2 separate regions of the Homo sapiens genome follow, and region 1 is linked to region 2. Evidence: promoter capture Hi-C in human tissues and cell types (Jung and others, 2019). All regions are on one chromosome and are shown on one strand. Each heading gives the region's core, a stretch centred on a gene start or on the middle of the fragment in contact. The rest is flanking DNA. Distances are from core to core; before and after follow the strand shown.

What was found. The method cuts DNA at HindIII sites, captures the fragments that hold promoters and counts their contacts. A contact is called where the count stands out against the background at its distance.
Region 1: a fragment that was not itself captured here is called in contact with the fragment with the promoter of GPR4 in region 2 in 4 of the 25 tissues and cell types used here (dorsolateral prefrontal cortex, heart left ventricle, mesenchymal stem cells and 1 more).

What each region holds. Positions count from the first base shown.
Region 1 is chr19:45,712,544-45,719,157 of GRCh38, forward strand. It overlaps FBXO46 (F-box protein 46), which reads right to left. Exons shown (of 2, transcript NM_001080469.2): 2 at 1-1,030. The coding sequence starts at 952. Among named protein-coding and RNA genes, the nearest start is that of FBXO46, 15 kb to the right of the region's middle. RefSeq lists enhancers at 4,413-5,083, 5,084-5,754, 5,197-5,246. The HindIII fragment of the contact is 7,183 bases long and covers 522-6,614 here.
Region 2 is chr19:45,598,448-45,604,954 of GRCh38, forward strand. It overlaps GPR4 (G protein-coupled receptor 4), which reads right to left and starts at 3,765. Exons shown (of 2, transcript NM_005282.3): 1 at 3,648-3,765. RefSeq lists an enhancer at 1-203. The HindIII fragment of the contact is 53,447 bases long and covers 1-6,507 here.

The DNA of each region.
Region 1 (6,614 bases), core at 2,863-5,362, 110 kb after region 2:
CATCCCGCGAGGGGCTGATGAGCTGGTATAAGTCACATGTGATCTTGTCCTTGGCTCGGGCCCCAGGACCTGGGCTGCCAGGGTAGGCACAACCAGGCCTGCCCCCGCCCCCACTGGGCAGGCCGCTGTCTGGTGCACGGGGCTCCCGGCCGTTGGAGATGCGGAAGGCGATGCGCACCTCCCCAGGGCCTGGCCCGGGCCGCTCTTCCTTGCGGAGGCCCTTGGTGGGAGGGCTGTCCCTCTGCGCTTCAAAGTGGGCCACGGCCTCGGCTACACGGCTGCAGTCCCCACCACCGGACCGCCGTTCAGATCCCACCCCCTTGGCCGGTCCACCTTGCTCGGCGGACACAAAGACTACAGGCGCTGGGGTGGTCGGTCGTGGGTAGCTCTGCAGGGCCAGGGCTGCCCGCTGTTCCACCAGGGCCACCATCTCGGCCACAGAGAGCAGGTCCACGTCCTCACCGGCTGAGGCGGGGCCCTCCTCAGCAGCAGGGGGGCCCTCCCGGCCCCCTGGGTCAGGAGGAGCCTTGGTGGGGTCAAGACAGCGCCTCCGCCGCTTGGCCTTGGAGCTATCGCTGCCCCAGTGCCCCTTGACCTTCATGGAGCTGGCCCGGCTGCCCCCACCACACTGGTGGGCCACAAAGAAGGCCACCTTCTCCTTTGTATTCCCGGGCTTGATGACATACCACGTGTCCAGGAGGACTCGACCCTCATCACCAGCAGCTGCTGCTGAGAGGAGCGGAGCCGGCTGGGAGGCAGGGACCTCAGTGGCCAAGGCGGGTGGTGTGTTCTCTGAGTGGGCAGGCCCATGGTCTGGCTCGGCCCCGCCACCAGGCTCAGGGCAGGCTGATGGCTTGAGGGCCGCAGAAGGCGGGCGTGGCTGGTTCTGTGAGTAGGTGCCAAAGGGCCGGGGGCACCATAGCTGGAAGGGCAGGAGGCTCCCACGGTCCATGCTGGGGGATGATGGCAGACAGGCTGGGCTTCAGCGCATCTCAGGACCTAGGTGGTGGTGGGAGGCTCCACATGCCACCTGGAGACACGAAGAGGAGGTTGGGGAGCTAGGGGGACAGCCTTTCTTCCCAGGACCACCCCAACCTCCACCTCTCCTTAGACCAAACCAGACCATCAAGAACTCTATTCCTGGCTGGGCGCGGTGGCTCACGCCTGTAATCCCAGCACTTTGGGAGGCTGAGGTGGGCAGATCACCTGAGGTCAGGAGTTTGAGACCAGCCTGGCCAACATGGTGATACCCCATCTCTACTAAAAATACAAAAATGTGCTGGGCGTGATAGTCCACGCCTGTAATCCAAGCTACTTGGGAGGCTGAGGCACGAGAATCGCTTGAACCTGGGAGGTGGAGGTTGCAGCGAGACCAGATGGCACCATTACACTCCAGCCTGGGCGACAAGAGCGAAACTCCGTCTCAAAAAAAAAAAAAAAAAAAAAAAGAACTCTATTCCCACTGCCATGCTCAGGTGAGCAGACAGAGGTTGCAGAGGGGATGAGAGATGCCCTTTTAACTTGCAGAGCGGGACCCTAACTGGCAGCACGCACCAACCCCATAGGTCCTACCCCACTGTCCAACTGCCTTTGCCCACAATCCAGAGGCCTTTAAACTGCCATAACTTTTACACTTAAGTGAAAGGACCACTGACAGACAAGGTCCTTTTTCTATTTGCTCACTCAGTAGCTCGTTCCTGAAAAGACAGAAATTCCCAGCCCCACCCACAGCTATGGCTGCTTAAACCCACAGAGAGAGGAACGAAATGCGCTGGGATGGGGATGAAAATCTGAGGTCAGATTCAGACAAGCACTTAAGAAATCGGCTTTTCTTTTTTTTTTTCAGGTAGTGGGGCTTAATGAGAATTTATTAAAGCTGTGTGTCCTCAGTCAGAAAAATGCACACCCTTGCAAAGACAGTACAGGGGATTCCCTAAAGCACAGCCGTGGACCCGCGGAGTAAGAGGGCCTGTTCTAGAGCCTAGGAGGAGTTCCAGGCTGCAGGGAGCAATGATGGCACCACTGCACTCCAACCCGGGTGACAGAGTGAGACCCTCTAAAAAACAGAGAACAAAGCCGGGTGTGGTGGCTTGTGCCTGTAATCTTAGCACTTTGGGAGGCCGAGGTGGGCAGATTGCTTGAGCCCAGGAGTTTGAGACCAGCCTGGGCAAAATCCATCTCTACGAAAAAAGATACAAAAATTAGCCGGGTGGGGTGTGGCGCACCTGTAGTCCCAGCTAGTTGGGAGGCTGAGGTGGGAGTATCGCTTGAGCCCAGGAGGTGGAGGCTGCAGTGAGCTGTGATGCTGTGATCATACCACTGCACTCCAGCCTGGGTGACTGAGAGAGAACCCATCTTGGGAAAAAAAAAGAAAGAAAACACGAGGGTGCCTGTTCTAGCCTAGCTTTCTCCTCAAGCTGCACACAGATAAACAGAGGCTCAGAGTGGGGAAGGGTGACATAGCTAAGATTACAGTGGGTCCGGAGCAAAAAGAGGCTCTCAACTTGATTTCTGGACTCTTCAATTTAGGGCTCTGTTAATGACTATTTTATTTTGGAATGACTTGATGTGAATGACCTAATCTGGAGGCAATCTTGCGCATGAGTCCGACATGATCACTTTCACTGCAGTTTGAACCTACTAAGTAACATATGCCTCAATCTTTCTCTGGCTCATCTCCCTCCAGACAGCTCAAAACCAAAATGACCCTTTAAACCTTGAAACTTCCACATGCCTACAGGCCAGAGAGGTCAGCAAACTATGGCCCAGAAGCCTAATCCAGCTCGCTGTCTTTGTAAATAAAGTTTTATTGAAACATGCTCATTTGTTTATGGATGCTTTCATCTTCAACAGCAGAGCTGAATAGCAGAACAAAGACCACATGGCCTGCAAAGCTTAAAATACCCATTATCTGGCTCTTTATGGAAAAAGTTTGCCAACTCCTGCAGTACAGACCATCCCTCTAAATTCAAACAATTCCAGGCCTGGCACAGTGGCTCACACCTGTAATCCCAGCACTTTGGGAGGCCGAGGCAGGCGGATCATCTGATGTCAGGAATTCGAGATCAGCCTGGCTAACATGGCAAAACCCCGTCTCTACTAAAAATACAAAAATTAGCCAGGCGTGGTGGTGCGCGCCTGTAGTCCCATCTACTCAGGAGGCTGAGGCAGGAGAATAGCTTGAACCGGGAGGCGGAGGTTGCAGTGAACTGAGATCTTGCCACTGCACTCCAGCCTGGGCGACAAGAGCTAAACTCCATCTCAAAAAAAAAAAAAAAAAAAAGAAAGAAAACAAAACAAAATCCAGACAGCCTCCAAGCACTCACAGGTACCAGTAAACACAGAGAATCCCCATGTCAAGAATCTTTATCTCCACTCCATAATCCCCAATCCCACCTACCCCTCAAATACTTACAGTCCCTGCTGTAATCTCAGCTCAGTGTTAAAAATATCACTCCACAGCCTCCAAAACCTATAGATGGCTGTTTACCAACCACCAATTCACATACATGTTGAGTATCTCAAATCTGAAAATCCAAAATGCTCCCAAATTCAGAACTTTTTGAGTGCCAAGATGACACTGATAGGATATGCTCATTAGAGCATTTCAGATTTTTCAGACTTGGCATACTCAACTGATAAGTATAATGCAAATACTCAAAATCCGAAGAAATCCAAAATCCGAAACACTTTTTAGTCCCAAGATTTTCGGGTAAGGGATACTTGACCTGTATAACCAACTGCCCAGGGAGGCAGGCTAACACAGCAAAAGCCAGTCTCTACAGATGCCATCCTGCTACAACCTGGCCACCCCCTCAAGTCCCCTAATCAGTTCCAACCTTACCCCCAGCATCTCAATGTCCTCCCCCAAATATCGAAAAGCTTTCAAATACTACTTTAAACCACCGAACCTAAAAATATCCTCTCCAGCACTGAAGGGCCGAATCTCAGTCAATCTCTCACAGATCCCAACACAGCAATTCCCCAAACTATGTCATAAACAATCACTCTCCCGGAATCCTATACTCCCCCCAACCCTCCTCCATTATCTCCCAATTCCACTAGAAGCCTCCAACAGCAGACGAACTCTTTGAAAACACAAAAGCTCCCTAACACTTTAAGATGAATCTTAAACCATAAAAATGTTTCACAAAGCCAAAAAAAAAAAACAAAGAAACCTCACAAATGTTACAATAGCAGACATGTGCTTACTGCACGCTCGCTGCGAGCTTACTAGGTAGGTACTGCGCTAACAATTCCTAATCCTCCTCGGTCCCTAGGAAGCAGGTAGTGTTATTAATGCCTAGTTCCCGATGAGACACAGGTGAAATCTCCTGTCCGGGTTAAGACAGGTAGGAAGTCAAGACGCGAGCCCAGACATTCCACCTCCAGGACTGGTACTCTCGGGCTCTTTGCTTCTGTCTCTCCGGGAGCTCCCCAAATTCTATGCCCAACAAACACTCCAAAACACAAAGGGAACCCGATCCCGAAAACACAACCGAACCTTCCGCATTACAAACGAACCCAAACTCCAAGGTGCCCCTTAAGCGCGAGAGAACCCCAAAAGTATCCCCTAAACCCACGTTAAAACTTCCCCAAGCCCCAGAACATTTTGCAAATGGAAAAGGAACCCCCAAATCTTGTAACCGCCCCCCCAAAGAAATCTTCCAAACCCCTCAGGTGACCCTCGAAACCTACACACGCCCCCAAAGAGCCCTCACCCGCAGCCCCCCCAGGCGGCGGGAGAAGGCTGCAGCCCACACGCATGCGCGCGAAAGGTAAAAGGGCCCGCCCCCTCGCTCCTTCCCTCCGGCCACCGCGCGGGCAGACTAGCAACTAGCTTCCCTCCGCCCTTTTGTTGACAGACGCGCGCGTGACGCTCTCAGCCAATGAGCGGCCGCCATTCGGGGCCGTGCCCATATAAGGCAGGCCTTGGCGAAGGGGCCCAACTTCGAAATAGGGAGGAGTAGGCGAGAGGTGATGGGAGTGGGTGGTGGGGTAGACACAGCCGGATGCAAGGGAGCGTGGAACAACTCCCAACGTCCAGCTAAACGGAACAAGGTCAGGGCAAAGGCCACGACACTCCAGGGGAGGCTTATTACACCACGTCCCCTCGAACAGAAGCCCTGATTGACGCTTGAGACTTAAAGGGCCAGGCAGCCCGGGGATTAAGAACACCAAGGCGGAAGGAAGCAGGCGGAGAGATCAGAGTATCCAGCTTTGGTTGGGAACTGTGGGGGCGGGGGGCGGGCTGAGGATTTCCGCGGGGGGAATTGGGCATCGGGATAACCCCACCCTGAAAAACAAATGGACAGAACCCTACGAAGGTTCCCACGGCAACTGAAAACAAGCCTCTAGGCCTGGCGTTCAAGGCTCAAGCCGTGTAGCCATTCGGAGCTGCCAGTTCAGCCTTTCCAAACAGGCGCCCCAAACCTGCCTCACTTAGTACAAAAGAGCAGCCAGAAAAGTCCTGTTAAAGCACAGTCCTATAAACCTGAACCCGTCCCTATCCTGGTGAGAACCTGCCATGGCTCCCCAGTGCCCTCTGGAAAACACCCAGGTACCCCACCTGTCCAGTCGCATCCCTCCCCACTCCTCCGCCCCGCAGGCAATACCCCAGTGCACCCTGGTGGGCACCTGATCTGGCATACATAGAATACTCAGGACCCATCTGATCCCCGGTAGGAGTGATCGTCTCCACGGTATGGATGAAGAAACTGACGCAGGGCAGGTCTCCTGACCACAAGGTCACACAGAGCTGGAGTGTGAGCTGGAGCAGGGATATGAAGCCAGGGAATCTGATTTCCTAGTCACTGTGCCCTACTGTTTCACTATATATTCCCTGGGGTTTCAGCTCGACCACCCCTCCTCTAAGAAGCTGACACCCCCAATCCCCCTAGGCCAGGTCAGGCTTCACCCAGGGCGTCCATGCGGTGGGCTCATTGCTGTCTATTCCTCAAAGTTACCGGGCTCTTGCCTTCCCTGGTCTCTGCATTTGCTGTTCCCACCAACTGCAATACATTCCCCCTCTGCAAGGCTCAATTCCTTACTTCATTCAGGTCTGTGTTCAAATGCAGTTTTATTAGAGAGGCCTTCTCCAACTCCCTTCCTGGAAATCACCCACCTGCCCAGAGGGGACCTCTGGGTTCCCTCTTCCCTGCCTACTCTGGGTCATCGTCTGGGGTGGGTCTCTCTCCAGGCCTGAGACAGGATCTTCTAACTCCCCCACACTGAGCCCAGCATAAGGCCCTACACTAGGTCAGCCTTCAGCAACTACTCCATGAAAATCTATTCATTGTAAAACATTGTGAACCAAAAATATGGAAAATCAAAAGACGGCAAAAAACTGGCTGGGAAAACACGAACCAAGAGACAAGTAGAGGAGTAACATTACCCCTTAAAAAAAAAAAAAAAAAAACTTGGCCAGGCACGGTGGCTCACACCTGTAATCCCAGCACTTTGGGAGGCAGAGGGGGGACACAATCCCTTGAGCTCAGGAGTCTGCGACCAGCCTGGGCAACATGGTGAAACCCCATCACTACAAAAAATACACAAATTAGCAGGGTGTGGTGGCACGTGCCTGTAGTCCCAAGTACTCAGGAGGCTGAGGTGGG
Region 2 (6,507 bases), core at 2,515-5,014:
ATACACTTCCCATTGCTAATTTCCTCAAGGGGGAACCGGTCCAGCTCTCACCCCTCCTCCCTCCCACCCCTCCTCCCCAACCTGCTGGCATCTTGCGGATGCTGGACATGGGGGGGAGGGGTGCCCAGACAGCCCTCTCTTCTTCCCCACGTGAGATCTGCCCAACGTGGAAACCCCAAAAGTCAGCATGGAACGTCAGACTCTTAGAACGCCACAGTGCAGCCGACGTATGTGTGGCAGCTGGGAGTGTGAGGCTATTTCTGACCCCTTCCTGGTACAGATGGGGAAACCGAGGCCCGCAGCAGCAAGGCAGTTGTCTAAGTCACTTGATGTCTCAAGACTGGGCAAACCTCCTGTCGCTGTTAACTAAACAGCTTCCCTTCCCCTGAGGTTTTTCTCTTCACTCTCTGAACTTCTGTAATTTTTCTCAAGTCTTTCTGAGCGTCTCTGGCCCCTCTGAGAACCTACTAGAAGATACGACCTTCTCCCCACAAAGAAAGCAAGCGACCTTCCATCACCTGATCCCCATAACCCCGTTCCCCTTCCAGGACCCTCTCTGGTTGGGATCTAAGTTCTGCCCCTTAGGCTCTGTTGAGGGGGTAAACCCCCAAATCTCACATCCACAAGAAGCTCCCCCTGTCTGTCCCACAGGCCCCCACTTCTTGGGTCCCTGCTGGCCCCTTCCAGAGAGTCGGGGGGAAGAGAAATATACCCAAGGATGGAGAGATGGTGGGGGGACAGGAAAGACTAGGAAGACCTGGCCCCCCCAACTTTAGCAGCCTCGGCTGCCGCATCCTGCCAGCCACCCCAAAATCCAGCAAAGCTGAAAAACTTGGAGGATTTTGAGGACAAGAGGGAGAAGTGCTACAGCCCCCCGCATCCCCCAGCACCCCTGGGCTCACTCACCAGCCTTGTCCCCGATGCCACCAGGCTATCTCACCTCCCCCTTTTCCTCCTCTGTGGGCTCCTGCTCCCACCACCCCCCCCTCCCCGCCTTCTCCCTGCAGCCCCAAGGGACCAGCCAGCTCCGGTCTGCTCATTAGGGACGAAATGTGATCACTGGTCCTCGCTCCCCACCTGGTGCCCTGGCGGCCGGCGGAAACCAGGGGGCAATCGGGCTACCCTAACGGCCCCACTGCACCTCAGTATCCCTGTTTCAACCGAGAGGGTCTCTGTGCCCCCAAAGCCCACACTGCCTACTAGGGATACCAGTCCTTAGATGGCCTCTCTGACGTTCTAGGTCTCTATGGTTCTGCAGTCTTCAGGTTCTATCCTTAGTTCACTTCGCAGTTGAATGTTCTATTATAACATTCTAGAGCGTTACTCTTCTTTCATTCTATTTATTACATCGTGGCTTTGTAAGTACCTACCCTAAGTTTCCAATATTCTAGGAGTGTCACATTCCAAGATTCGAAAGTTCTATTGTTAGAACACGCTATGATTTTTTTAAGCATTCTATGACTTTCATAATCTATTATTAAACGCTCAGTGATTTTTATCTTTCCCCAGCAAACAGGAATATGTATTTCCCTTTTCTCTTTTACAGAAATGGGAACATACACTAAATACGGTGAGCCCCACTTCCTTTTCTTTCCCCCCTTCTCTCGCCTGCTTTTGAACATTCCAGCAGCCTGATTTCTAAGATTGTGCAGAATTCTAAGAAATTATGGCTTCATGGAGGGAAGAGAGGGGCGTGTTAGTCACCACCTCCACCTGGCCCCTAAATTCTCACCACCTGGGGGTGACATGCTATATCCAGGCCGCCTCTCTACCCTTTCGCTAGTGGGCCTAGCCTCAGCCCTCCCCGCTCACACCAGCTGAGTTATTATTTGTCTAGACACAAACCAAATTATAGGCCCTGTCCCCGAGGGAACGGTGGGCTCCAGGCGGAGGGTCAGGAGACTGAAGCTGGAGTTAATCCCGGTTCCCCTCCACCTCCCTCCCTCTCTTCCCGAAACTCCACCCCTTCCACCCAAACCAACTATTGCCCCTCTCCCTCCCCACCACCATGGTTTTGGAAATATTTTCTCTCCTCTGCTTCTAAAACCCTCCCTTCTGGATTCCAGCCATTTCTACTCACCCTGGCATCTCTCCCTCCTCATTGAGAAGACCTCTTTCCCCAAATTAATCCGACTTAGTGGTAGCAGAAGAAGCCAGCTCTGTGGATTTGGGCTTCAGTTGAAAACTGGGGTCCCAACCCTCCAGCCTGGCACTGACTCACTGTGGGGACTTCTGCTTTTGGACCTCAGTTTCTCCATCTATAAAATGGGGGCAGGGGGAGTTGGCCTAGGTGGCTCCGCAAACCCTTTCCAGCTCTCAGCTGCCATCACTGAAACGTGCCAAGATTTCAACACTCCTCTTTTTGGATTGAAGGACTCCAGTATCCCCAGGACCTTTGATTGGAAAGATCTGGAATTCCCAGGCCTCCCCTCCAATGCTTCTTCCATCTGGGCCCTTCCATTCAAAGATGTTCACATTCAAGGTACTTGATCATAGGATTCCCAGGGTTCCAGGAGCCCCTATGGGTCTTTCATCCTCTTCAGCTGGGATTCCCCCAGAAAAGAAAACCTCCTCATCCTCACCCCAAACCTGAAGTCAAGTTCATCTACAAAGACAGAGGTGGGGGCGGATACCCCCTTGGTGGGCTCAGGAGGAGGGGGGCTGATGGTGGGCTCTGGAGGGGGAACTGGGGGGTGTGGCCCCATCCTCTCCACTTCTGCGCCAAACAAATTCCCCAATGCATATCCAGCCTGAGTACGCACACACACACATCCCACAACCGATGCCTCACAGATATCCTAGAGCTATTCCTCAGCCTAGTTTGGGAGGAGGGGTTGTCCAGTTCCAGGGGGGAGAGTGAGGCGGAAGCAGGAAAGAGTTAATGGTGACCCAGCCAAATCCTGGAAGAGAGGAAGTAGGGGAGGAAGTCCACCCCCCAGGCAGGAATTCCTGAAATTGGCGGGCGGGCTGGGTGCGACCTGAGGGGCAGTGGGGTGGCTCCGTGAAGGGGGCGCTGGGATCATGGTGTCACTTAGAGTCCGCCTGCCCCAGGTCACAAGCCTCCTGCCCCCTACCCCACTCCCAAGCAGGTTCCCAGCCCAGAGGAAAGTTCCGGGATGCGGAGGATTTGGAAGGAGAGAAGACAGAGCTGAAGGTGCCAAAACAGTGTTATAAGAGACGGAGAGAAAGAGACAGGGCAATAGAGATGAAGAGACAGGAAGGGAGAGAGCAAAGAGATACACAGAGACAGGGAGAGATGGAGATAGAGTCAGAGACATCCGCAGAGGTCCCACAACAGACGGGGGTGAGGCAGAGGCAGGGGCAGAGGGAGGTGGGACCCAGAAACAGAGAGACAGAGACAGACAGACGGAGACAGAGAGGCAGAGATCAAGAAAAAGACAGAGACATCCAGAGACACAGAAGGAAAGACACGTCCAGAGGCAGAGGGACCACAGACACAGAGACATCAGGCGGGAGTTGGAGACAGACGCAAAGCCAGGGAGAGCAACAGAGGGGGCGGGCACCGAGACGGCGCGGGAGACTGAGGCAGCCCCCGAGGGGGCGGGGAGGAGCGGTCTCGCCACGAGCAGGGCAACCTAGTGAGACCCCGCAGCATCGCGGGCAGCCGGGGAGGACCCGGCACTTACCTGCGCGCGGCGACTGGACGGGGCGGGCGGCGGCACCTCTCTCCGCTGCGTCCAGGTCCCCGGTCTTGACAACGGCGCGGGGACCCAGCGGATGCCCCCGCGGGGCAGAACAGCGGCTACTCCTCCCGGCCCCCGGGCCAGAGCCGCCAGCCGAGGCCCCGCCCCGGCCAGGCCCGCCCCCATTAACCCCACCTTTGCCGCTGCCCCTTAACCCCTTTCAGGCTTCACCCCATTAAACGCCTCCAGCCACGGGTGAGGCTCATCTGCTACTGGAACACCCCCGAATCCTTCCAAGTCCCCAGCTGGAAGGTCCCCTCTCTCCAACCACACACCCCCAAATTTATCAGGTCCTCGGCTATGGGAAGAGGAGGCCCCCGCTACTGACCTTCCCTGGGTTAAGCCATTTCCTCCCTTAGAGACCCCAGGCTTCAGTCATTCATCCTCTGGTCATTAACCTTCTGCATCTTCCTCCCCAACAACGGAGAGAATAAAGGGTTCTGTTAGGTCCCCAACTCCAAAGTCAGGGCCACCCCTAGAAGGAGCTCTGGGGTTGCATTTCCAGCCTGACTCTTGGTCAGACCTTAGGCTAGTGACATCTCCGTGCCTCAGTTTCCTCTTTGAATCAAGGTGGTCACTCATGGTGCCTGCTTGCTTCCTTCTTTTCTTTGCTTTGCTTTGCTTTGCTTTTTTCTTTCTTTTCTTTCGAGACAGAGTCATGCTCTGTTGCCCAGACTGGAGTGCAGTGGCACAATCTTGGCTCACTGCAATCTCTGCCTTCCAGGTTCAAGCGATTCTCCTGCCTCAGCCTCCCGAGTAGCTGGGATTACAGGCACACACCACCACGCCCGGCTAATTTTTGTATTTTTAATAGAGACGGGGTTTCACCAAGTTGGCCAGGCTGGTCTCGAACTCCTAAGCTCCAGCTATCTGCCCACCTCGGCCTCCAAAAAGTGTTGGGATTACAGGCGTGAGCCACCGTGCCCCACCTTTTTTCTTTTTTTGAGACAGGTTTTCACTCTCTTGCCCAGTCTGGAGTTCAGTGGCACGATCATGGCTCCCTGCGGCCTCAACCTTCCAGGCTCAAGTGATCCTCCCACCTCAGCCTCCTGAGTTGCTGGGACTACAGGCGTGTGCCACCACACCTGGCCAATTTAAAAAATTTTTTTTTTCTATAGACAGGGGTCTCACTATGTTGTCTAGGCTGGTCTCAAACTCCTGGGCTCAAGCCATCCTTCTGCTTTGGCCTCCCAAAGTGCTGGGATTATAAGCCTGAGCCACCGAGGCCGGCCATCATGGTCCTTTTCTCCTGGCGGTCTCATTTAATGGTGTCAATGCTATCAAGTCTGTAAAATATGCCAACCAGACCCCAACACTCCCCATCTTTCTCTGCCTCACTTTTCCCCTACCCTTTGGGGAAGGCAACATTCTCTTATTTTTTTCTAGTTGTCTGCCTTCCTACTAGGAAGAGTGTCATTTTTGTGTCTGGCTTGTTTACTGTTGCATGTCTGTTGCCTAGAAGACTGCTGGGCAGGTGATAGGTGTGAAACACATTGTTTTCTGGCCGAGCGTGGTGGCTCACGCCTGTAATCCCAGCACTTTGGGAGGCTGAGGCAGGCGGATCACGAGGTCAGGAGATGGAGACCATCCTGGCTAACACAGTGAAACCCCATCTCTACTAAAAATACAAAAAAATTAGCCAGATGTGATGGTGGGCGCCTGTTGTCCCAGCTAATCAGGAGGCTGAGGCAGGAGAACGGCATGAACCCGGGAGGCGGAGCTTGCAGTGAGCCAAGACCGCGCCACTGCACTCCAGCCTGGGTGACAGAGCAAGACTCCATCTCAAAACAAAAAACAAAAAACATTGTTTTCAGGGAGTGAACAAATGAATGATAAGTGCTCCTAAAACATTAGCTTATTTTTATTATTAACATCACATCTTTCATAAACTAATCATGAGAATTCATTATTGGTCAAGGGACTTCAGATAGATGTGGCATATAACACTAAAAAATGATAGCTGTCAGGTTTGATTTTTTTTTTTTTTTTTGAGACAGAGTCTTGCTGTGCCCAGGCTGGAGTGCAGGGACATGATCTCAGCTCAATACAACCTCCTCCTGCCGGGTACAAGCAATTCTCCTGTCTCAGCCTCTGGTAGCTGGGTATACAGGCATGCACCACCACACCCAGCTAATTTTTTTGTTTTTAGTAGAGACAGGGTTTCACCATGTTGGCCAGGCTGGTCTCGAACTCCTGACCTCAGGTCATCTGCCTGCCACGGCCTCCCAAAGTGCTGGGATTACAGGCATGAGCCACGGCACCTGGCTTGTTTTTTGTTTTTTTGAGACAGAGTCTTGCTCTGTCCCCCAGGCTGGAGTGCCATTGTGCCATCTCAGTTAACTGCAACCTCCACCTCCCAGGTTCAAGTGATTATCCTGCCTCAGCCTCCCGAGTAGCTGGGACTACAGGTGAACACCACCACACCCGGCTACTTTTTGTGTTTTTAGTAGAGACAGGTTTTCACCATGTTGGCCAGGCTGGTCTCGAACTCCTGACCTCAGGTGATCAGCCTGCCTAGGTCTCCCAAAGTGCTGGGATTATAGGCATCAGCCATCGCGCCCAGCTCTTTTGTGTTTATTTTTAAATTAAATTAAAATGTAGGCCAGGCATGGTGGTTCATGCCTGTAATCCCATCACTTTAGGAGGCCAAGGCAGGTTGATCAATTGAAGCCAGGAGTTTGAGATCAACCTGGGCAACATAGCAAGACTCTGTCTCTACAAAAAAAAAATTTCTTTTAACTAGCCAGCTGGGTGGTGCGTGCCTGTGGTCCCAGCTACTGCGCAGGCCAAGGTGGGAGGATCA